7 separate regions of the Homo sapiens genome follow, and all the other regions are linked to region 1. The links are contacts of gene promoters, found by promoter capture Hi-C in blood cells and fetal thymus (Javierre and others, 2016). All regions are on one chromosome and are shown on one strand. The core of a region is centred on a gene start or on the middle of the fragment in contact, and the rest is flanking DNA. Distances in the headings are between cores, read along the strand shown.

Region 1 (2,781 bases), core at 30-2,529:
AGTAGATTACCAGGTGTATCCAACAAATCAAGAAGTTAACCCGTGGAAAATTGAAGGGACTTTTTATGTTTGCCTATGAGCTGTCTGGGGAAATGGAGGAGAGGCAGGGAATACTTTCCATAGCTTGACCTGCTCTTAAGTTCCTGGACATACCTTCCCCTTTTTAAAGTATGATTTAAAGGCAACAATCCATCTCCCCCGGACTCCCATACAAACCTCTTTTGGCAGCCAAATGGTCTTCATCGAGCACACACTTTTCAAAGAATTAAGGACGTGTGAGTAGGTTTAGTTTAGACCCTGCCTTCCCTCTCCCCACAACCCAGTAACATGCTGAAAATAAGTAATAACCTTCCTGGGTACCCCCAGAAAAACCTGTTTGCAGAAACTACAACCTTTCCTCCGAAAAAAACCCCTATCTTCTTAAGGAAGAATCTCAGTGTGGTGGTCTGCAGTTCACTGCAGGCATTTCCCTCCTCACCATTTACCAGTCATCAGTTACGCTGCATCTGAAATTGGTTTTTGTAGACTTTCATTTAGACCGGCTCCACCGGTGCCCAACTGCTTAAAAAAAAAAATAGCCCCTGAACCAATCTCTGGATTCCTCCAGCAGGCTCAAAGCGTTCAATTTCGCTGCAACTCTGGGGTGAAAACCGCCAGGTCCAGCCGGCAGAGCAACCTCCCGGGCAGCACGGAGGCTCCGTCCCCGGCGAGGCCGCCGGCACCTAGGCAGGAGGGCTCTTCGCACAGCTGCGCTAGGAATTCGGCTCCGCTCGCGGCCGCAGGATTAGTTCGAGTCCCTCGGGCTGGCCAAAGTGACACTACATTTCTTCTTCTTCGTTTCCCCATGTGACAGGTCCCCCTGCATTAAAGCCACCTCCTCCTCGGCCCCAGCCCAGGTCCAGCGCTCCTGACGCCCGCGCCCCATCACCCGCACCCTCCACCTGGGGAGGGGGTTCATGCCAGCAACCCTCCAGGCGGGAAACAAAGGCGGAGGCAGGGCTGCCAGGTGGGCAACTCCCCTCGGGCAGACCCGTCACGCAGTGGGGAGGATGGGAAGGTGCCTGAGAGGATAGGAAAAGGGAAACCAAGGCAACCGGGGCTGCATCCTCCCTGAAGCTGGGCTCCCGGGGCAAGCTGACCCCACACCTCCCCGAGCCCCGCCCAGCCCAGCCTAACCCGCTTGCCGGGACCCAGCATGGGAAGGACTGGGGGGACGCCCCGGAGCGCCGCTTACCTCGGGAGAAGCGCTCCGGCTCCCTCCGACGGCTCAGGAGAAAGCCCCACCGCTCGCGCACGCGCTCTCGCGCACTCGCGCCTTCGCCCCTCGGGCCCCCGCGCGCGCCCCTCCGACCAGGCTCTGGCCCGCCCCGGCCTTGTCCGTCAGCGTCCGCGACAGCCAATCCGGTCGCACGGAAGGCTCAGCGCCGGTCACGTGGTGAGACCAGCCAATCACCAAATTGCCCTCGGCAGCGCCCGCTCCGATGTCTCTGGGGGTTCGGTTGCTACCTAGCAGAGCGGGTGCGAGGCGGGCACAAAGGGTCTCTGTTTTCGGGGGCTAAGTGGCACTCAGTTGATCAATTACCAGATCAATTGACTTCTCAAATTCTAATATAAATAAGAATCACTTGACTCTCTTGTTAAAATGCGGATTCTGATCCAGAAGGTCTGGGGTGGAGACCTGAGATCCTGCATTTCTAATAAGCTCCCAGGTGGCGATGACGAAGCTCTTGGTCGGAGGATCACGCTTTGAATTGCACCTGTCCGAAAGTAATGGCTGTAGCCCCAGCTCCACGTAATTTGAAACTTGCACGACCTTTCTTGTCCTTCTTCCACTGATGAGAAGCGTTCCTGTGGCTACATGGGGTGTCCCGGTGATGCTTACAGTTTGGGCACCAGCTGAGGGAAGGTGTGTTTAATCCCCACATTACCCACCCTTGGTCTATGGAGCAGCAATCATGCCAACTTGGTGACTGGAGTGTGGAACCAGAAGTGGAGACGGAATGGCCATGGAAGAGAACACTGTGTCTACGTTAATCCTAAAGGGTTGGGCGTGTGTGTCTGAGTGGCGCGGTGCCAGACACTTGGCCAGAGAAGTGGTATAAGTGGTCCCTGCTTCTCAAAACGTAACAATTTGTTGTAGAACTATACAGGCTAGTTCAGAAAGAAGCATGTGGAGAAAACATCCGGGAAGCTAACAGTCACAGCACAAATTCAGGCATAAGCTAAAGAGGTTGTAAAATAATATGCCTTGAGGGTCTTAAAAACTGTCCAAATATTCTTCTGTCAGTAATTCCAGAGTCTAGAAGTTAGGACTCCCACTGGCCCTGTCATTTCTCAAATTTGACCTAAGGACTCAGTGTTTTCGGACTGGCCAGCTAGAACCTTTGTCGTTCAGCGTAGCCAAGCTCTTATTACCCAGTAGTGTACCGCCGTGGTTCAAGATTCTTAAGTGCTGAATTCTCCAAAACCTTCATCTCTCATCTCTTGAAACCAGGTGGTATAACCCTGCTTCAGCATTTCTCTCTCACTATCAAGGTGATCAAACTGTCGCTTAGAGAAAACTTCACCTTTGTCAGTGTGTCCTGAACTTCTCTGGCTTCTCATCCCCAGAAGTGAAGCCCACCTAGCAATCTCAGACATTGTTCATCACATTGTCCCTATCAGAGATGGCATCGCACAAAATTCAGAGTTTCTGGGAACATGTTAAACCTGTCACAGCAATGGTTCTGGCTACAGCAGGAGTAAAGAAATGTCTAAGCAAGAAAAATGTTTTGAAAGCCT
Region 2 (3,123 bases), core at 439-2,938, 280 kb before region 1:
TTGGTATAATTTTGGCTTTCTTCAATTCATTGAGATTTGTTTTGTGGCCTATCATATGGTCTGTCTTGGAGAATGTTCCATGTGATGATGAAAAGAATGTATATTCTGCAGTTATTGGGTAGAATGTTCTGTAAATATCTGTTAAGTCCATTTGTTCTAGGGCATAGTTTAAGTTCATTGTTTCTTTGTTGACTTTGTGTCTTGATAACCTGTCTGGTGCTGTCAGTGGAGTACTGAAGTCTGGTGCTGTCAGTGGAGTATTTTTTTGTTGCTGTCTATCTCATTTCTTATGTCTAGTAATAATTGTTTTATAAATTTGGAAGCTCCAATGTTAGGTGCATATATATTTAGGATTGTGATATTTTCCAGTTGGATTGATCCTTTTATCATTATATAATGTCCTTCTTTGTCTTTTTAAACTGTTGTTGCTTCAAAGTTTGTTTTGTCTGATATAAGAATCGCTACTCTTGCTCACTTTTGGTGACCATTTGCATGGAATATCTTTCCCCACCACTTTACCTTAAGTTTCTGTGAGTCCTTATGTGTTAGGTGAGTCTCTTGAAGACAGCACATACTTGGTTGGTGGATTTTTATCTATTCTGCCATTCTCTATCTTTTAAGTGGAACATTTAATCCATTTTACATTCAATGTTATTGAGATGTGACATACTGTTTTATTCATTGTACTAGTTGTTGTCTGAATGCCTTGTTTTTTTGTGTTATTGTTTTATGGGCCCTGTGAGATTTATGCTTTAAGAAGATTCTATTTTGGTGTATTTTAAGGTTTTGTGTCAAGATTTAGATCTCTTTTTAGAATTTCTTGTAGTGCTGGCTTGAGAGTGGCAAATGCTCTCAGCATTTGTTAGTCTGAAAAAGACTTTATCTCTCCTTCATTTATGAAGCTTAGTTTTTGCTCAATACAAAATTCTTGGCTAGCAATTATTTTGTTTGAGGAGGTTAATGATAGAACTCCCATCCCTTCTGGCTTGTCGGGTTTCTGCTGAGAAATGTGCCGTTAATCTAATAGGTTTTCCTTTATAGGTTACCTGATGACTTTGCCTCACAGCTCTTAAGATTTTTTCCCTGTCTTGACTTTGGATAACCTGATGATTACGCACCTGGGTGATGACCTTTTTGTGTTGCATTTCCCAGGTTTCCTTCGAGCTTCTTGTATTTGGATGTCTAGATTTCTAGCAAGGCCAGGAAAGTTTTCCTTGATTATTCCCCCAAATATGTTTTCAAAACTTCTAGATTTCTCTTCTTCCTCAGGAACACCAATTATTCTTACATTTGTGTATGTAACATAATCCAAAATTTCTTGGAGGCTTTGTTCATTTTGTTTTGTCTTTTTCTCATTGGGTAACTTGAAAAACTTGTCTTCAAGATCTGAAGTTCTTTCTTCTACTTGTTTGATTCTACTGTTGAAACTTTCTAGTATATTTTGTATTTCTCTAAGTGTGTCTTTCATTTCCAGAAGTTGTGATTGTTTTTTTTTTCTTTATGATAGCTATTTCTTTGGAGCATTTTTTATCCATATCCTGTATATATTTTTTAATTTCTTTAAGTTGGTTTTCACCTTTCTCTGGTATTTCCTTGAGTCACTTAATAATCAACCTTCTGAACTCTTTATCTGGCAATTCAGATATTTCTTCTTGGTTTGAATCCACTGCTGGGGAGCTAGTATGGTCTTTTTGGAGTGTTATAGAACCTTGTTTTATTTAAATGTGGAGATGGAGTCTATGTTGCCCAGGCTGGTCTTGAACTCCTGGGCTCAAGTGATCTTCCCACCTCAGCCTCCCAAAATGCTGGGATTACAGGCATGAGCCACTGCGCCCAGCCAGAACCTTGTTTTGTCATATTGTCTGAATTACTTTTCTGATTCCTTCTCATCTGGGTAGACTATTTCAGTGGAAAAATCTGGAACTTAAGGGCTGCTCTTCAGATTCTTTTGTCCCATGAGGTGGTCTCATGAAGGACTCATGAAGGTCCCATGAAGGGTCCCCTTCCCCTAGGGATGGGGCTTCCTGTGAACTAGACTGCAGTGATTGTTGTTCTTCTGGGTCTAGCAACCCAGTGGGGCTACCAGGCTCTGGGTTGGCGCTAGGGAATGTCTGCAAAGAGTCCTGTGATGCAATCCATCTTCAGGTCTCCCAAACATGGATACCGGCACCTGCTCTGGTGGAGGTGGCAGGGGAGTGAAGTAGACTCTGTGAGAGTCCTTGGTTTTAGATATGTTTAGTGTACTAGCTTTCTTGAATGCTAGTTATGTTAGCAGTGAAGTTGTCATGTGGACAGACTCAGGACCACTGGTCAGCCAGAATGTTGCATGCAATGGAATTAGATGTTTTCTCCTTCCTTGCAGCAGGGTTGTTCTGTCATGAGTTTCCGTAATGTCCTGAGTTGGTTGGCCTACAGCCAGGAGGTCGTGCTTTCAAGAAAGCACCAGCTGCAACAGAAGTGGGATATAAGCTTGCCCTAAGTTGGCCAGGATAAGTATTCAGGTTTCTGAGGCAATGGTCAGGGTCATAAAGCTCCCAAGAGTTTATGTCTTTCGTGATTGGCTACCGGGACAGGTAGAGAAAAATCATCAGGCGGGGGCAGTGTTAGGCAGGACCCAGCTCAGACTCTTCTTGGGCAAGGGCTTGCCGTAGCTACCATGGGGGATAAAGGGGTGGTTCTTGGGCCAACGGGGTTATGTTCCAGAGGGGATTAGGGTTGCCTCTGTCACCAGGGAAGTGGGGGAAAGCCAGTTGTGATGGGCCTCACCCAGCTCCCATGCATTTGGTGAGGCCAATCTCTCTCCCACTGTGGCCTGCAAACAGCGCTGAGTTTATCTCCAGGCAGCCTGTCCACAGGACTCAGACCTAGCCCCAGGCTATACACTTCCCCTGAGTTTTTTTTTTTGCCTATCTCGCAGAATTTGCTGCTTCTTTCAAAGGATCTAGAAATTATTTTGGTTTTCCTGTTATGCTCCTGCAGTGGTTCCTGGAACAAAATTCCATGGTGTGAGTCTCCACATGCTATTCTGTCCATCCAAATGGGAGCTGCATGTCAGTCCTGTCTCCTATTCACCATCTTCCCAGAACTCCCCCTCTTAAGTAATTTTTAATCTATATGTTATTT
Region 3 (3,207 bases), core at 59-2,558, 360 kb before region 1:
CATTTCAAGTGCTTGATAGCCATATATGGCTAGTGGCTGCCAGATTGGACAGTGCAGATATAAGATATTAATATTTCCATCACGCAGAAAGCTCTACTTGAATGTAAATTACCTCATTAATATATTTTGTATTGATTACATGTTGAAATAACATTCTGGACATATAGAGTTAAATAAGCTATAATATTAACTTCACCTGCTTCTTTTTACGTGTTTTACTGTGGGTAATAGAAACTTGTCAATTACCAATGTAGTTCATATTTCTATTGAACAGCGTGGTTGTAGGTGGATACAGGAACACACCTCCATTTATTCATTGTTCTTAACACCTCATCCATCCAATGGTATTTGATTGGATAATAGCTGTAAAAATCCCTTCTCAACAGTAAAGGTGACTGAGGCAGCCCCAGGGTAATGGGGCAAATGCAACTTTGGAGGCACAAAAATTCAGGTTCAAATCTCATCTCCATCCCTCTACTAGCTTTGAAGTCTTGGGCAAATTACATGCCTCAGTTTCTCATCTGAAAAATGCAATCAGTGAATGATCCACTGCATAGCATTTCTTTGAAGTTTAAAGAAGACAGTGGGTAGTGCACGTATGGGGGCTAGCGTGGGCTCCTAGTAAACCTCGGTAAAAGGTAGCATTGTTGTTATCATTACCATTTTAAGTGTGAAAGTGTAGGGGATTATGGTCAGTTTCTCTGGCCTCAGCCTACTCACAACCCTACCCGCTGCCTTCAGCAGCCCCTCCCAGCCCTCTGCAAAGCCCTTGGCACAGCCTGGACACTTACCTGCTGGCAGCTGCTGGCCCAGGAAGCCCGTAGGGCACCCCAGTTTCCCGAGCGTGTGGCTTTGCTCTCCAGGTGCATCCGCAGTTGTGTTTCCAGCTCCTGACTGACTTGCTCAAGGGCGTGCACTTTGGCCATATATTCCACCAGGCAGCCCCCTAGGTCCTCAACAGCACCATGGTCCCTCTCCAAACCTGGAGCCGGCACGGTGGCCAGGCCTGAGCTCCGCAGGCCCTGAAGGAAGACACTGCTGATGCCGAGGGCCCGGCGGGTCACACGGGCACCCAAGCCACCTATGCACCCACTGGGTGCTGTTCCTACATAGACCCCGGGTGCTCGGACAAGGCCACTCATGGCATTGGTCCTGGAGGCTGGGGGGCTCTCCAGGGAGGATGATGACCGTGGCCCCCTGAAGGACGCCCTGCGCCTCTGGAGGGGCATGCTGGAGCTGGCACTGGTGGGCAAGTCCACTACCACTCGCCTCTCACTCATCACCCCTTCTGCCTCTGTGGTGCCCAGTGGGTTTACAGAGTCCAGTGGCTTTTGGTTTACAGCCCCAGCATCCCTGTGGCCTGGTCACGGGCCTCTCTGGAATCTCCCCTATCCCTGGGGCTGCTTTGTCTGCTGTCTTCCATGAGTTTCCATCATTCACTGAGCTGAAAGAGAAATGGGCACTGCCCAGGGCTGTGTGCAGAGAGGCACTCATGCATTCTTTGATGCAGGGTCATGTGCCCAACCTCCCAGATTATTCTGCTGGTGGTGGGGGAGGCTGGATCAGTGCAGGCTGTGGAGGTAGACCATTTGGGTTTGTGCATTTTACTACCTAAGTGGGCAAGGCAGGCATCAAGCAACCCCATTTTACAGATGAGTAAACTGAGGCTCAAGGACCTCAGATGACAAGTGTACTGATCACTTGCCCCAGACCTCAGATTACAAGCTAGGACTCAATCTAGCTATTTCAGGGCTTTCTACATCCCTATGTGTGCTGGCACATGTGAATGTGAACACATGTCCACACAGGCAATAGAGGATGAAAAATGGCAGGAGGCAGCTCCAGGGACCCAAGAGAAAAGACTTGCCTATGGTTTCCTCTCTCAGTCCTGGCAGCAGCTTCAGGTCCTTCCCTCACCTCTCTCCTTTCCTCCTCATCTCTGTCCTCTAATGCTCTGCTGTTCATCAGCTGCTTGCTGTTGGCCAGGATGCTTCCTCCCTCTGGACCTCACTGTCTGAACATTGGCTTGGGCCTTTAACTCTCTGATGCACCAGATAAGGACCTTGGGCAAATTCAGATCCCACACATGTTCCGGCCATTCCCTACACCTCTGCTTCTCCATCTGTTGGAAAACTGAGAAATAAAAACAACAACGAGGGTGTTTTCTGGTAAGCCTCTCCAAGGGTGCCCCAAGTTAGGATATGATGACACCCCTGGGTTTTAATTATTGACCTTGGCATCCACTAAGCCACCAAGGGTCACACCTCAATCACTTCTCTAGGATCAGAAAGGTTCCCCCAGTTACAGGATGACAACATGGACCTAAAAACCTCTGTACATAAGTTTTACCCTGGAGAAACCAGGTCACCAAACCCCAGAGCTGGATACTTTTCCAGATGCTGTAATGTAGGAATGTACCTCAGGTGAGAGAAGGAGAAGGGAGTCAATCTCTAGTGAGTAGCAGATCCAGCCTGGTGTGTGCATGAATCCTATGGTTTATTTCGTGGAATTCTCAACTCAACCTCAGGAGGAAGGAGGTCCAGGGTTGACAGGTACTGCCATATGGGCTGTGTACCTCACAGCTCTAAAATGACATGTCCTACAGTTGGCCACTGTCCTCTTATGTGAGGAGGACCCCGAGAGCTGCAATGACTTGCCCAAGGTTCTATGTCCAGAAAGTAGCAGAGCTGGGGGCAGACAACCTCTTCCAAACTCTGGGCCACTGACTTACTTAGGAGCCTCCCTGTTGCCCACCACCCAGAGAGCAGAGTACCTACCTGAGGTCACGCAGGTAGAGGTAAAAAACCTGGTCGCCTACTAGAGGACCCTGTGTGCACTTCCTTCCTACTGACCAGGACACTCCAACCCTTCCTTTCTTTATTGTCTTCCACTTTGTCTCTCTGAGATGGCCTGGGAGGTATTTTATAAATATCAGTGTTGGCTATTTGATGAACAGATGAAAGAACCAATTGGATTAAGTAAAGGCCAGTAGTGTCCTTGTTTATTCAGATGTAGCATTAATGCTGTGAACACCACCCCTGATGCACCCAGAAGGGGCATGCGAGCCTGTGTTACAGTAACAGCCTCCTATACGGATGACACTGACTTGGTTCTGAGGATCTGCATTATTGTGAATTCCAAGATGTATTGTCCAAGGCTGAATGAAAAGTTCAGGCTACTGATTAAGTTGTGCACAAATGTGTCATG
Region 4 (2,987 bases), core at 296-2,795, 280 kb after region 1:
TGAGCCAAGTTATCTCTGCAGCCTAAACTTAAAGTAGACAAAAATAAAAATCTTATGACAAGGTAGATTCACACAGAATTGTGAATGAAGCTTACAGGTTTATAAACATTCCAGTCAGTATTTTTAATATACCAGAAGTGGGATGTTGAGAAATAAATCAGCAAAGTGTTTCTAACAAGTGAATAAGGGCTTTTTTTTCTTTCTTTCTTTTTTTTTGAGCATTAAGTTTTTGAGAAGTTGGGTAAAAATTAGTTAACTTTATTGCTGCCAGGAGCATTTGAACCATTAATTTTTCCCTGGATTAATTGGACGGCAGAAATGTCCTTGGTCAATTTCTAAGTGAAAGACATAGAAGGAAATAGAAGGAATTCTTCCTTCTAATTCAACCCATGAGATGGGCCTAAGAAATATTTGTCAAATAAATTAAAAAGTATATGAAAGAGTCAATCAATGTTAAAAAATAGACATCTATATACTGAAAATGATCTTGCTCTTTTGAGAGGAAATGATTTGTCGTTACTGTATTTGCTGAGCATTTTTTTTGTTATAAAATTGAAAGTACAGGATTCTAGAAATTTGCTTTGAAGTAGTTATCTAAGAGACAAACTATCAAACAGAACCTAGTGATATGAGTAAGCTCAACACTTGTCAATATTCTCAGGTCTACCTATAGCTGAGAACTGCAGAAACTCCTACTGATAAGCAGGAAGTTTTCATGACATTTAATAAGTAGCTCCAGCTGAAATAAAATGAAATGAGAAGTATAAGCTGGAGGCAGCCGAGAAGCAACAGGAAACTGATAATGCCCTTGGAAGAAGAGGTTACCATTAAAGGCCCCTCATCAAACAACTAAGCACAGATCCACAGGCAAATCGATAAACAGAACCAGACCTAACAGCCTGCTGGTGAATATGGTTCAAACAGACTAGATAAGATGGAAAGAAATTGACCAGCGTTGAGGATGCAATTTCCAGGAGTCATCTCTCCCTGTAGCTCAAAGAAGACTTAAGGAGATACTAGACATGGGGTAGAAGTTCAAGGCAGCTGTGTGTGGAGAGGAGTGAGGAGTTCTGTTCCAACAGGACCCTTAGGGGCTGTTGGAACTTCTAAGAGGAAATTTAGCACAGGCTGGTGCCAAAGAATTCACCTCCAAAATCTAAACCCAACATAGATTCCAAAGTTTGTGAGGGAAATTTAAATGTCCCCCAAAAGGCCAGGCATAGCCGTGGCCCAGAGTGCAGGGGATCCCTAAATAGACCCCCAATACCCAAAAACTTCCTTGACAGTTCCCCTCAGGAGCCTCAAAGAAACTACAAACTCAATGTATTAGAAACAAAAATTGATGATCATTTACTGAAAACCAGGTCTTCCACCTCCATTGCTTCCTAACTCAACAAATGGTATCCCCATTTCTCCAGTCTCATATCCAGAAAACTAGGCCTCACTCCTGGCCCCCTCTCCCCCACTCTCCAAACTGAACTTTCTTAAATATAACCATTACTCTCCACCTCCACCACGATGCTACTTTAGGCCACTCCCCTGGTTCATGTGGATTCCAAAGTAACCCCCTAACTAATCTCTCCCCAACCACCATCGCTCCCTACAATCTGTTTCAGCCTTGCAGCCAGAGTGGGCATCTTTCCAAAATGCAAATCTGACCATGTCAAACCACTACATACCACTACTCGAAGCCCTTTAAAGGCCTCTCATGGCTTTGGGGATAAAGAGGGAACTCCTTACCATGGTGTATGAAGGCCAGAATTCTCTGGCTCCTGCTCACATCTCCAGCTTCTTCTAGTTCCACACTGCCCCTCAGCAATCTGTTCTGGCCATTGCATCCTTCTTTTGGTTCTCTGCTGTCACTAAATCCCATCTTGCTAAAAGGTCTTTCTGTTAAGGAATTCCATCTCATCCTTTCAGACTTTAGGTCAAACAGTATCTCCCCCAGAGAGCCTTTCCTAATGTCTCTGGCCAGGTACCAGTAATCTCTCCTGTGCAGCTCTTCTCACAGTTGCAATTTTACACTGATACTCATAATTTGTTTTTATTACTATTCACATTCCTCCTAAACTCTCTAAATTCCATGAGTATAAGTTGAGCATCTGATTTTGCTCACCAGTGGACCCCTAGCTCTCAGAAGATAGCAAACAGGCCAAGCATTGTTGAAAATTAAATGAATGAATGGCACAGAAAGAAGCCAGAAAGACAGCCAGGGAACTCCACCTTCCTGCTTCTGGTCCCTCTTACACATGACTAGGAATAAATTTAAAACATGGCTTATTTTGTCCTGAATTGCTCCCTTTGCCCAGAAATTGTTTGGTGAACACCCTAAGATTTGACTGCAGCAGAGTGAGGTGCCAGGTTATAATTCAATCAGGACATAAGGCTTTAGGCACTGCCCAATCAGCATTTTTAGGGCTCATTGATGAAATGAGAATTTTCCCCCTATAATACAAGTGCAATTTTAATGACAGGAAATTTTTGAGATATGTAAAGTATAATTTTTTTGAAACCTAGGACAATGAAGAAAAATTTCTCATGATAGTTTTTATCATTATAGGCTAGAAATGAAAAAGATACTTTAAAGACCTTATTAGTGAGATAACAGAGAAGAATCATTGTTAGAAAAGATTTTTTAATGAAATGTAATATCTATATGTATTTTCTGCCAGAGAAGAAATTAATTTAAAAGTTTCCACAATAATCACTCATAAATGATAGTATAAGTGAAGGATCATAGGTTCTGTTTGCTTTAATTCACCTCTATTTATATGTTTCAGACCAAAACCCTCTTCTATCAAAGTTCTCAGATTTAATATATAATTTTCAAATAATCTACAATAAATATTTATAATATACATCCATACTACTTCAGTTCTAAAGGCAATGTTTGCTTATTTGTTTGTTATAATGAAATCTGTTCATTAGGTGTTTTTAGAAAACTTCAAAAGGTTTTGTTTCAAAGCACCTAAATTATTGAAAAATAA
Region 5 (3,117 bases), core at 1-2,500, 320 kb after region 1:
TGTGGAGTAACACTGTCAGATGTTACCTCATTTATACAGATGAAACCCAGCCTGAGATGGATCTTTTCCTTAAGGTGAGGATATTTATAAATTCTGTATCAACCAATTTAAAATATAAGTTAATATTATATTCTGTTTCTGATACTACTGTATCTCAACCAAATAGTTTCCTACTAGATTATATGTCTTAAAGAACAGGAAGCGTCTTGGGCTTTTCTTAAGAGAAAATATTGTTCAATATTATATGTAAAGAAAGGTGGTGAATTGAGAGTTTATTTATTTATTTTTACTTTCTGGAATTAACTTTCCTAGGACAGGAGCTAAGACAGAAAAAGAAGGTTTTAACTCGTTTTAGTTAGTTTTAAATGTCAAACTAAGGTGTTGGAACTTTCTGGACTTTTTTTTGTTTGTGTGTTTGTTTGCTTGTTTTGAGACAGTGTCTTGCTCTGTTGCCTGGGCTGGAGGGCAGTGGCACAGTCATAGCTCACTGTAGCCTAAAACTCGTGAGCTCAAGCAATCTTCCCACTCAGTCCTCCAGAACAGCTAGGACTACAGGTACACACCACCACATACGGCTAATTTAATTTATTTATTTTTTTTTTTTGCAGAGAAAGTGACTCATTGTGTTGCCTAGGCTTGTTTAGTGAATTTTTCATTGCATATTCTCCACAATGTTTAAGACTCTTGTTGATTGTGTCTACTTTAGTTACTCTCTCTTCCAGCTCTATCCTTGAGTCTGTCTCAGGTAGTAAAATTTTCTCCTTACTGTGGTTTAAATTTTCCAAGGCAGCCGTTGGAGTTATTCTAAGGCAAGGGTCACTATAGCCAGTTGGTGAAATCTGGCCTGCTGCCTGTTTTAAATGGCCCAGAGATAAGATTGGTTTTCACATTTTAAGTGGTAGAAAAAAATCAAAAGGAGAATAATATTTTATGACATGTGGAAATTATATGAAATACAAATCTTAGTGTCTATCAAGTTTTATTAGAACATTGCTGCACTCATTCGTTTACGTATCATCCATGGCAGCACTACAACACCAATTCAATGGCAGAGTAAATTGTGATAGAAACCAAATAAGCCACAAAGATCCCTGCTAAAGCAGCCAAGTTGTAAAGCTATTATTATTTTTGTAGACATATTTGCTATCTAACCCTTTATATAAAAAGCTTGCCTACCAGTGTTCCAAGGGAATTTTATAGAATCTGTGTGTCACATGCTATACCTGCTATATTAACATCTTCCCTGTTGTTGATTACCAAATTCATTTAGCTTTCCTTTGTGATATTATTCAATTTTAGTAAAAAGATAAAATATTTTAAAGCCCAAAGCTTCCATCCAGTAATTGAAAATGTTATTCCCAACGACATTTTGAGGGCATTACTGATTTCTTTCATAATAATAGTCATCATTACTTACTAACTTAATTATAGATTTATGTGTTTTTAACTTATATCGCTCTGCTTTAGCGTTCTGATATATCATCGTGGATGTTTTTTACTATACAGATTTATGGATCTATATTTTGCACTCTTTATGACAATAAAACAGATTGTTCATAGTAATAATAACAAAAAGAAACAAATACCAAAGCAAAATAGCCTAATACTGTCTCCTGTTGTTCTAGCTTTACTATGAAATAAGTCATTTTCTGAGCTAGAAAAAGGCCAAGTTGCTAAGCTATTATTATTTGTATTTGAGAGAAACTTGCCTTTTTAAGATTTTCTTTAAAATGTGATTATTTTTAAAATTTTATATGAAAAGATATCCAGTATAACCTGTTTTAAAGCGTGCTTTTTATTTTAAGTAGTATGAATCTCACTTGATCTTTAGTTAAATACATTAAACTTTTGTATGTTTTCATTTGTTTTTAGGACTATTCACCTAAACTTAAGAGAATGTGCGAGACAATGGGATATTTTTTCCATGCTGTTTATTTTCCAATAGATGTTGAAAATCAATACCTCACTGTAAGAAAATGGGAAATTGAGAAAAGTTCTTTAGTTATTTTATTTATTCACTTAACATTACCAAGGTAAGCTGAAAAAAAATGTAATTTATTATAAGCAGTAAACTGTAAATAGAATTGAGTTTGCCAAATAAGCTTCAAAGATAAATTTTATTGCATCCTTATAATAAAAAAATCCATGAAATTCAATAAATTCTACAACTGTTTCACACTTAAATAAAATAATTAAAAGTTTTAAGCTGTTAGACTTGTTTCATAGGTCATATGATCAACACCTTAATTTTTAGCTTATTTTAATCAGAGTTTGGCAAATATAGCCCAAGGGCCAAATCTAGCCAGGAGTTTGCTTTTGTAAATAAAGTTTTATTGGAACACAGCCACATTCATTCATTCATATATATATAAATTTTTTTTTCTTTTTTTTTTGAGACAGAGTCTTGCTCTGTCGTCCAGGCTGGAGTGCAGTGGCGCAATCTCGGCTCACTGCAAGCTCCACCTCCCAGGTTCACACCATTCTCCTGCCTCAGCCTCCTGAGTAGCTGGGACTATAGGCGCCCACCACCACGCCTGGCTAATTTTTTGTATTTTTGGTAGAGATGGGGTTTCACTGTGCTAGCCAGGATGGTCTCAATCTCCTAACCTTGTGATCCCCCTGCCTTGGCCTCCCAAAGTGCTGGGATTACAGGCGTAGGCCAACACACCTGGCCCATTCGTGTATTTTCTACAGCTGCCTTCATACTATAATAGCAAAGTTGAATCTTTACAACAGAAACCATGTGTCCTACAAAACCTGAGTTGTTTACTATCTGGCCTTTTACAGAAAAAGTTGATAACCCCTAATTTCAATAATCAACATTAACCTTCATTCTTTTCTTTCTTTGGATACAAACTGAGAGGTATTTGAACTATGTATTTTACATATAAAGTTCATGTACTTGATCACTTGTGTAGGTGTTGAATCATAATTTACATTTTTTGAGGAGCTTACTATTTAAATAGACCCAGTAAAGTGAACAATGTTCTTATAATGTGAATATAATCATGCTAATGAATCTTGTCTGCAAGTAAAGATTTTTTTTCACCAGTTAGATATAGAGATAAAGGACAAAATAAGTTTAATAAGAGGCTAATTTTTCTTTCTAGATTTACT
Region 6 (3,084 bases), core at 271-2,770, 420 kb before region 1:
GGTCCTTCAGGAGGAATTCCAGAAGAAGGCATTGTTGTTACAGGAGCTGAAAGCTCCACACATGTCACTGCCCCTGAAGACCTTTCAGTGGGACAAGATGTGGAGGTGGAAGACAGTGATATTGACGATCCTGACCCTGTGTAGGCCTAGGCTAATGTGTATGTATGTGTCTTAGTTTTTAACAAAAAAAGTTTAAAAGGTTAAAAAAACCCCCTCTTAAAAATAGAAAACAAGCTTATAGAATAAGGATAAAAGAAAGAATATTTTTGTATAGCTGTATGACGTGTTTGCATTTTAAGCCAAGTGTTATTATAATAGAGTCAAAAATTTGGAGTTGGGGACTCTGTGCCCCTTCTCACATACGTTGCCTTAAGCATCTCCTCCATTTGGCTGCTCCTGAATTGTATCCTTTATAATAAGCTGGCAAAAATATGTAAAGTGTTTCCTTGAGTTCTGGGCACTGTTCTAGCAAACTATCTACTTATCCCTCTGCAGAGGAGGTTGTGGGAACCCCTAATTTATAGCCAGTTCATCCGAAGTATGGGAGGGCCAGACTTGTCATCTGAAGTGAGGGCTGTCTTATGGGACTGAGCCCTTAACCTGTGGGATCTGATACTACTTCAGGCAGGTAGTGTCAGGATTGAATTGAATTATAGGACACTCAGTTGGTGTTTGGAGATCTGCTTGGTGTGGAACAAACCTACATATTTGGTGTCAGAAGCATTTTGTAAGAGCATAGGGGACAAAAAGGATTTTTTAAAAAAGAGATGGGGTCTCACCATGTTGCCCAGGCTGGAGTAGAGTGGCTATCCATAGGCATGATCATAGTGTACTTCTCCTTTGAACTCTTGGCCTCAAGCAATCCTCCTGCCTCAGCCTCCTGAATAGCTAGGACTACAGGCACATGCCACAGTGCCCAACTTAAAAAAAAAGTTGTTTTGTTTTACTTGACTAACTAGGAGGTCTAGAGTGTGGTGTGGCATGTTGTCTGAGGTTCCTGAAGCATCCCTGAGTACCCTGCATTAGGTAACCACAACAAATAGACAAGGAAGAACTAGACTTTAAGACCCTCCAGAAATTCTCTGGACCAATCTGATCCTGTCATCACTGAATCATACAACTTCAGAAGCTTCAAAAACTGGACCATGAGGTTCCTGACATTCGTAACACCATAGCTGGAAAGAATATGAATACTGCACTGACCTTAGCCAGAACCTCTTAATAAATTTTTTTATGTCTCTATTTTATTAAGCTTTTAATGACTGAAAAAATAAACAGAATTGGCAGATAAGTTCTAGCAGATGCTGATGGTACCACCTTTATCCCTTAGGCTTTCGCAGTTTAGTGCTCTCCTGTTCCCCCTGCCAGATTCTGCATCTTTTTGCCTGAGAGTTTCTCTGAAGCCTTTGGAAGGCCACTCTGATAGCAGATGGCAGAAAACTGTTGGGAGATGGTATTAACATCTCAGCTCCCTTGCCTTTCCCCTCTCCTGTAGTCTATACCGTTTCTCACAATTCTTCTTGGTTTACACGTCAGTCTCCCACAGTGGTAACTGGTTTGATTAGGCATTCTTTGTTGGTTCCCTTCTTTGCTTCTCCTCTACTGGTATTTTGTTGGTTTTTAACTCCCCAACTTCCAGGTAAACTACCTTAACTCCAATATTTGTTTCAGGATCTGCTTCTGAAGGAACCTAAACTAAGATATAAATTAATCATGTTAATTAATTTTCAGCCTCTGTGGTCCGAAAGGTAATTAAATGCATGCTTGCATTTTCTTTACAAAAGCTTTTGAAAGCTGTGTGTGCTAAGCCATTTCACATTTATGCTATGCCGCCAAGAAACCGACAAGAGATGCTCAGGATGGGCAAATGTCAGCCCCTGAGGGCACAACTGCAACTGACAAAACTATTTATTGGAGGAATTCTGGCTGTCAGTTCAGATCTCTGTTGATGATCAGAGGAATTCACTCATTCTGCAAATATTTTCTGAGCTCTGCCTTTCTGCAAGAGGCCCAGGCAGCATTGGCCAAGCTAAAACAAATACTGTCTGTTTTCTCTGAGATGTAGCTTTCAGATTACTCTATTAAAAAAACACTAATGAATCTGTTCAGAATTAATGTTTGAGTTACTGTTGGGCTAGTGATGATTCTCCAAGGGGTGAGGAGGAGATAATAATGACCTTTTTTTTTTCTTTTTCATACTATGAAGGATTTATTTCTGATAATTATAATAGTCTGTCCTTTCCCAAAGAAACAGTTACCACAGTGTGGTGCACACCGCAGGAGGGCTGGGACAGAAGCAAAGTTTGCAAACTGCTGGGCCTCTGAGGTTTAGCTTTAGAAGCAGAGCCAGGGGAGAAACGATGCAGCCCAATGCAGAGAAAAGGTCTCTGGACCAAGAACAGGAGAGTTGAACTATGGAGCTCTCAACCAGCTGTGTGATCGTGGGAAGTCACCTGCACTCTCTGGGTCTCAGTTTCCTCACACCTAAAATTAGGGAATGGGATCAGATGGTCTCTAGGACCATTAATTATCTGTTATCTGTCATGAGTCTGTTAAAAAAGGCAATGGACCAAACTCAAATCTATGGCTTCACTTTACCTCTGTGTTGCTCCACTTCTCATCAGGTTGGGTGGGGCGAGGGGAAGTCATTTTTTGAATAACTAGGCTCTATTTGCCATAAAAAAGTGTTTGTAGTGACCTGGCTCAATGATTGGTGGTTAGAAAGAAAGGAAGCTATTGAAACGGGGTAGGGGTTGGAGAAATGGGTGAGTGAAAGGATGTTTTCTAGGCTGGAGAACATTTTGGGAATCCAGAATTGATGAAGACCCTGCTGGGAAGGTTCTTGTTGATACTTGGGGGATAGAGGGAGTATGGTGGGAGAAAGGACAGAAAAGCCTCTCCTATTTTTCTTTTCATAGCTTTTTATAATTCTTATGGTTCTCAAATCTGGCTGCATATTAGAATCATCCAGAGAGCTTTAAAAATCACAAAGTCCCTCTCCTCTGTCTGATTTGGTTGGTCTGGGATGGCGATTTTTGAAAATGCTCTGAAATAATTCTGCTGCGTAGCCAGGATCAAGAACCA
Region 7 (2,965 bases), core at 278-2,777, 310 kb before region 1:
TGGGAAAGAAACAGGCTTTGTAATATAACTTAGGGAATCCTGGATGTCAATGTCATATCTTTCCTTTCAGTCTCCTGCCTGGAGGGTGTGGCTCTGGTTACTGATACTTTGCCAGCAAGCTAGGAAGAGGGCCAGGGTCTCAGCATTCAGTATGTAAAACTGCCTTTACACCCTATTTTTGTATACAATGCTTGGTGTTTCCATAGTCATTCAACCAATTCTCTGACCTGTAGTTCCACCTCCACCCCCATTCCCAGGGGTTCCTGGAATTACTGCCGAATCTTAAGGTTTTGGGAGGTTCTATAGTTGGTTCTAGGTCTTCCTGACTCCTAGTTTAGGATTCAACTTCATCAGGTTTCCAAGGAAGTTACCCTTTCTCCATTTGTTTTCTAGATTTTGGTTTTTATTTTTTAATTGACAAATTGGAATTGTACATATTTATAGAGAACAATTTGATGTTTTGGTTAATATCTACATTGTATAATGATCAAATCAGGGTATTTAGCATATCTATTACCTCATGCATTTATCATCTTTTTTTTTGTGGTGAGAACCACCTTCACAAGCCTCTCTTCTAGTATTTAGTAATACACAATGTTTTACTATTAACCATAGTCACCCTACTGTTCAATAGAACACTAGAACCTATTTCTCCTGGTTGTAACCTTTTACCTATTAACCATCCTCTCCCCATTCTCTCCTTCCTCCCCTCCCAGTCTCTAGTAATCACTGTTCTACTCTTTGCTTCTATATCACCTCTTTTTCTTTTTTTAGATACCACATATGAGTGGTGAGATCATGTAGTATTTGTCTTTCTGTGGCTGCCTTATTTCACTTAACATAATGTCCTCCAAGCTGATCCATGTTGTTGCAAAGGACAGGATTTCCTTCATTTTTATGGCTGAATAGTATTCCATTGTGTACATATACCACATTGTCTTTATTCATCCATTGTTGGATACTTAGGTTGATTCCATATCTTCACTATTTTGAATAATGCTGCAATAACCCTAAGAGTGCAGATATCTTTTGATATACTGATTTCCTTTGGATATATATACAGTAATGGGATTGGTGGATCATGTGGTAGCTCTATTTTTAATTTTTTGAGGAACTTCCATACTGTTTTCCATAATGGCTGTACTAGTTTACAATCCTACCAACAGTGTGCAAGTGTTTTCTTTTCTCCACATCCTCACCGGCACTTGTTTTCTTTTGTCTCTTTTAAAATAATAGTCACTTTAACTGGATGAGATGGTATCTCATTGTGGTTTTGATTTGTATTTCCCTCATGGTTAGTAATGAGCATTTTTTCATGTATCTGTTGGCCATTTGTTTATCTTGAGAAATGTCTGTGAAGGTCTTTTGCTCATTTAAAAATCAGGTTAGTTTTTTTTTTGCTATTAAGTTCCTTATATAGTCTGGATATTAACCCCTTGTCAGATGTATAATTTGCAAATATTTTCTCCCATTCTTTAGGCCATCTCTTCACTCTGCTATTTCCTTTGCTGTGCAAATGTTTATTAGTTTCATGTAATCCTATTTGTCTATTTTTGCTTTTGTTGCCTGTGCTTTTAACTTCTTAAATTATATTGCTGTGTTTGCTCTCCTGTTTTCTTTGTTCTTCTGGTCTACTATTTTAAATAATCCCTTTACTATTTAATGAGGCTTTGATTACATGTGTTTATATTGTGCCACATTAAACCAGCATTCAACCCTAGATTTGAATGCCTCCTCTGTTATGTTCCTGTGATGGGACTTTGAAGAAGTTACTTAAACTCTATAGGCCTCAGTTTTGGTCAACTTAAAGGGGAAAAATAGTATTATATTTGTATTCCTTTGGCTATTAATGAAATTGAACACTTTTCCAGAAGTTTATTGCTCACCTGTATATTTTCTTTTGCTCAAGAGCACTGTCTGCTTTTTTCCTGTAATATTAGTCTTTAAAAATCTATTGTGAGTATTTTTTAATATGTCAAGGCTAGAAACTTGGTAACAATCATGTTTACTGAAAATATTTTCCCCCAATAGTTTGTCTGCCTTTGATTTTGTTTTGTCTATGGAGTTTTGTTTTGTTTTTGACCAAAGAAAAGTCCTTCCCAATCCTGTTTTTGGAAATATTTACCAATATTTTCCTCTATTTGTTTTATAATTTCATCTTCTACACTATGTAGTGGATGTTGTGTGCCACTCAGGTCCCCTCTTGAAGACTTAGGCTCTCATTCCCGAATTTCTTGGACTGTTGGATGCTGATGGCTCATTGTTCAATCTCTCTCCCAGAAATCTCACTGAGCCAAAGGGAGTTGCCTCACCCTACACCATGCCCCTCCAGGGTAAATCCCACATTCAACACCTGGTTGATGTCAGGGAACACAGGCCCTTGTCTCAATTTGGGACAGCTGTGATGGGCTAGCCCAGCTCCCCAGCTACCTGTGGAGTCAGCTGAGCTCTTCATATTAGCATGTATTAGAGGGACTGCCCGCCTCCACTCCGCTTCACTCTATCTCCCAGTGCACTCAACACTAAATGCCCTATACTAAGACTTCTCCCCAAGGTTTCCTGAGAAACCAAAGACAAAAAGTTCAATCCATTTGTAATTTACCTTGATATACTGTGTGTGATGAAGCTCTAACTTATTTTTTCCAAGTAATTAATTCTCCTAATACCATTTACTGACTTATCCTTTGCCCAGATTTTGAACTGCTACCTTTATTATATTTAAATTTTAAAAATATAATAAAACTGTTATAAACAAACTGTTTCAGGGCTATCTAGTTACCCTAATCTGTTCTCTTATATTTGTAATACAATATTTTGATTAATATTACTTAATGACATGTTTTGATTTTTGGTAAAGCAAATCTGGCCCCCCCCTCATTACTCTTGTTTTTCAAAAATATCTTTACTACTTGTTTCTGTTTATACTTTTAGATAAACTTTGGACTCATTTTCCATAGGTTAATTA

What was found. Contacts are between HindIII fragments. The CHiCAGO score rates a contact against its expected background, and 5 or more counts as called.
Region 2: a fragment that was not itself captured here is called in contact with the fragment with the promoter of TMEM108 in region 1 in 1 of 17 cell types (megakaryocytes); the score reaches 8.4 in megakaryocytes.
Region 3: the fragment with the promoter of BFSP2 here is called in contact with the fragment with the promoter of TMEM108 in region 1 in 6 of 17 cell types (megakaryocytes, endothelial precursors, erythroblasts and 3 more); the score reaches 21.7 in megakaryocytes.
Region 4: a contact is called between a fragment that was not itself captured here and the fragment with the promoter of TMEM108 in region 1, in 4 of 17 cell types (megakaryocytes, endothelial precursors, M2 macrophages and 1 more). The highest score is 11.1, in megakaryocytes.
Region 5: a contact is called between a fragment that was not itself captured here and the fragment with the promoter of TMEM108 in region 1, in 1 of 17 cell types (megakaryocytes). The highest score is 5.0, in megakaryocytes.
Region 6: a contact is called between a fragment that was not itself captured here and the fragment with the promoter of TMEM108 in region 1, in 1 of 17 cell types (megakaryocytes). The highest score is 5.3, in megakaryocytes.
Region 7: a fragment that was not itself captured here is called in contact with the fragment with the promoter of TMEM108 in region 1 in 1 of 17 cell types (megakaryocytes); the score reaches 7.2 in megakaryocytes.

The regions. Positions count from the first base shown.
Region 1 is chr3:133,036,889-133,039,669 of GRCh38, reverse strand. It overlaps TMEM108 (transmembrane protein 108), which reads right to left and starts at 1,279. Exons shown (of 6, transcript NM_023943.4): 1 at 1,235-1,279. RefSeq lists an enhancer at 1,291-1,585. The HindIII fragment of the contact is 5,754 bases long and covers 1-2,781 here.
Region 2 is chr3:133,318,702-133,321,824 of GRCh38, reverse strand. The region is part of intron 3 of TMEM108 (transmembrane protein 108); the gene reads right to left. Among named protein-coding and RNA genes, the nearest start is that of TMEM108-AS1, 63 kb to the right of the region's middle. The HindIII fragment of the contact is 1,567 bases long and covers 905-2,471 here.
Region 3 is chr3:133,398,157-133,401,363 of GRCh38, reverse strand. BFSP2 (beaded filament structural protein 2) reads right to left here and starts at 1,308. Exons shown (of 7, transcript NM_003571.4): 1 at 792-1,308. The coding sequence starts at 1,280. The HindIII fragment of the contact is 8,153 bases long and covers 1-3,207 here.
Region 4 is chr3:132,755,081-132,758,067 of GRCh38, reverse strand. All of the region lies in intron 3 of NPHP3-AS1 (NPHP3 antisense RNA 1), which reads right to left. Among named protein-coding and RNA genes, the nearest start is that of NPHP3-ACAD11, 34 kb to the right of the region's middle. The HindIII fragment of the contact is 2,906 bases long and covers 93-2,987 here.
Region 5 is chr3:132,712,042-132,715,158 of GRCh38, reverse strand. NPHP3 (nephrocystin 3) reads left to right here. Exons shown (of 27, transcript NM_153240.5): 5 at 1-74; 6 at 1,873-2,033. NPHP3-ACAD11 (NPHP3-ACAD11 readthrough (NMD candidate)) reads left to right here. Exons shown (of 45, transcript NR_037804.1): 5 at 1-74; 6 at 1,873-2,033. Among named protein-coding and RNA genes, the nearest start is that of NPHP3-AS1, 8.2 kb to the left of the region's middle. The HindIII fragment of the contact is 162 bases long and covers 1,170-1,331 here.
Region 6 is chr3:133,452,011-133,455,094 of GRCh38, reverse strand. All of the region lies in intron 4 of BFSP2 (beaded filament structural protein 2), which reads right to left. The region is part of intron 2 of BFSP2-AS1 (BFSP2 antisense RNA 1); the gene reads left to right. Among named protein-coding and RNA genes, the nearest start is that of BFSP2-AS1, 38 kb to the left of the region's middle. The HindIII fragment of the contact is 532 bases long and covers 1,255-1,786 here.
Region 7 is chr3:133,348,026-133,350,990 of GRCh38, reverse strand. All of the region lies in intron 3 of TMEM108 (transmembrane protein 108), which reads right to left. All of the region lies in intron 5 of LOC101927432 (a long non-coding RNA gene), which reads left to right. Among named protein-coding and RNA genes, the nearest start is that of BFSP2, 51 kb to the left of the region's middle. The HindIII fragment of the contact is 8,814 bases long and covers 1-2,965 here.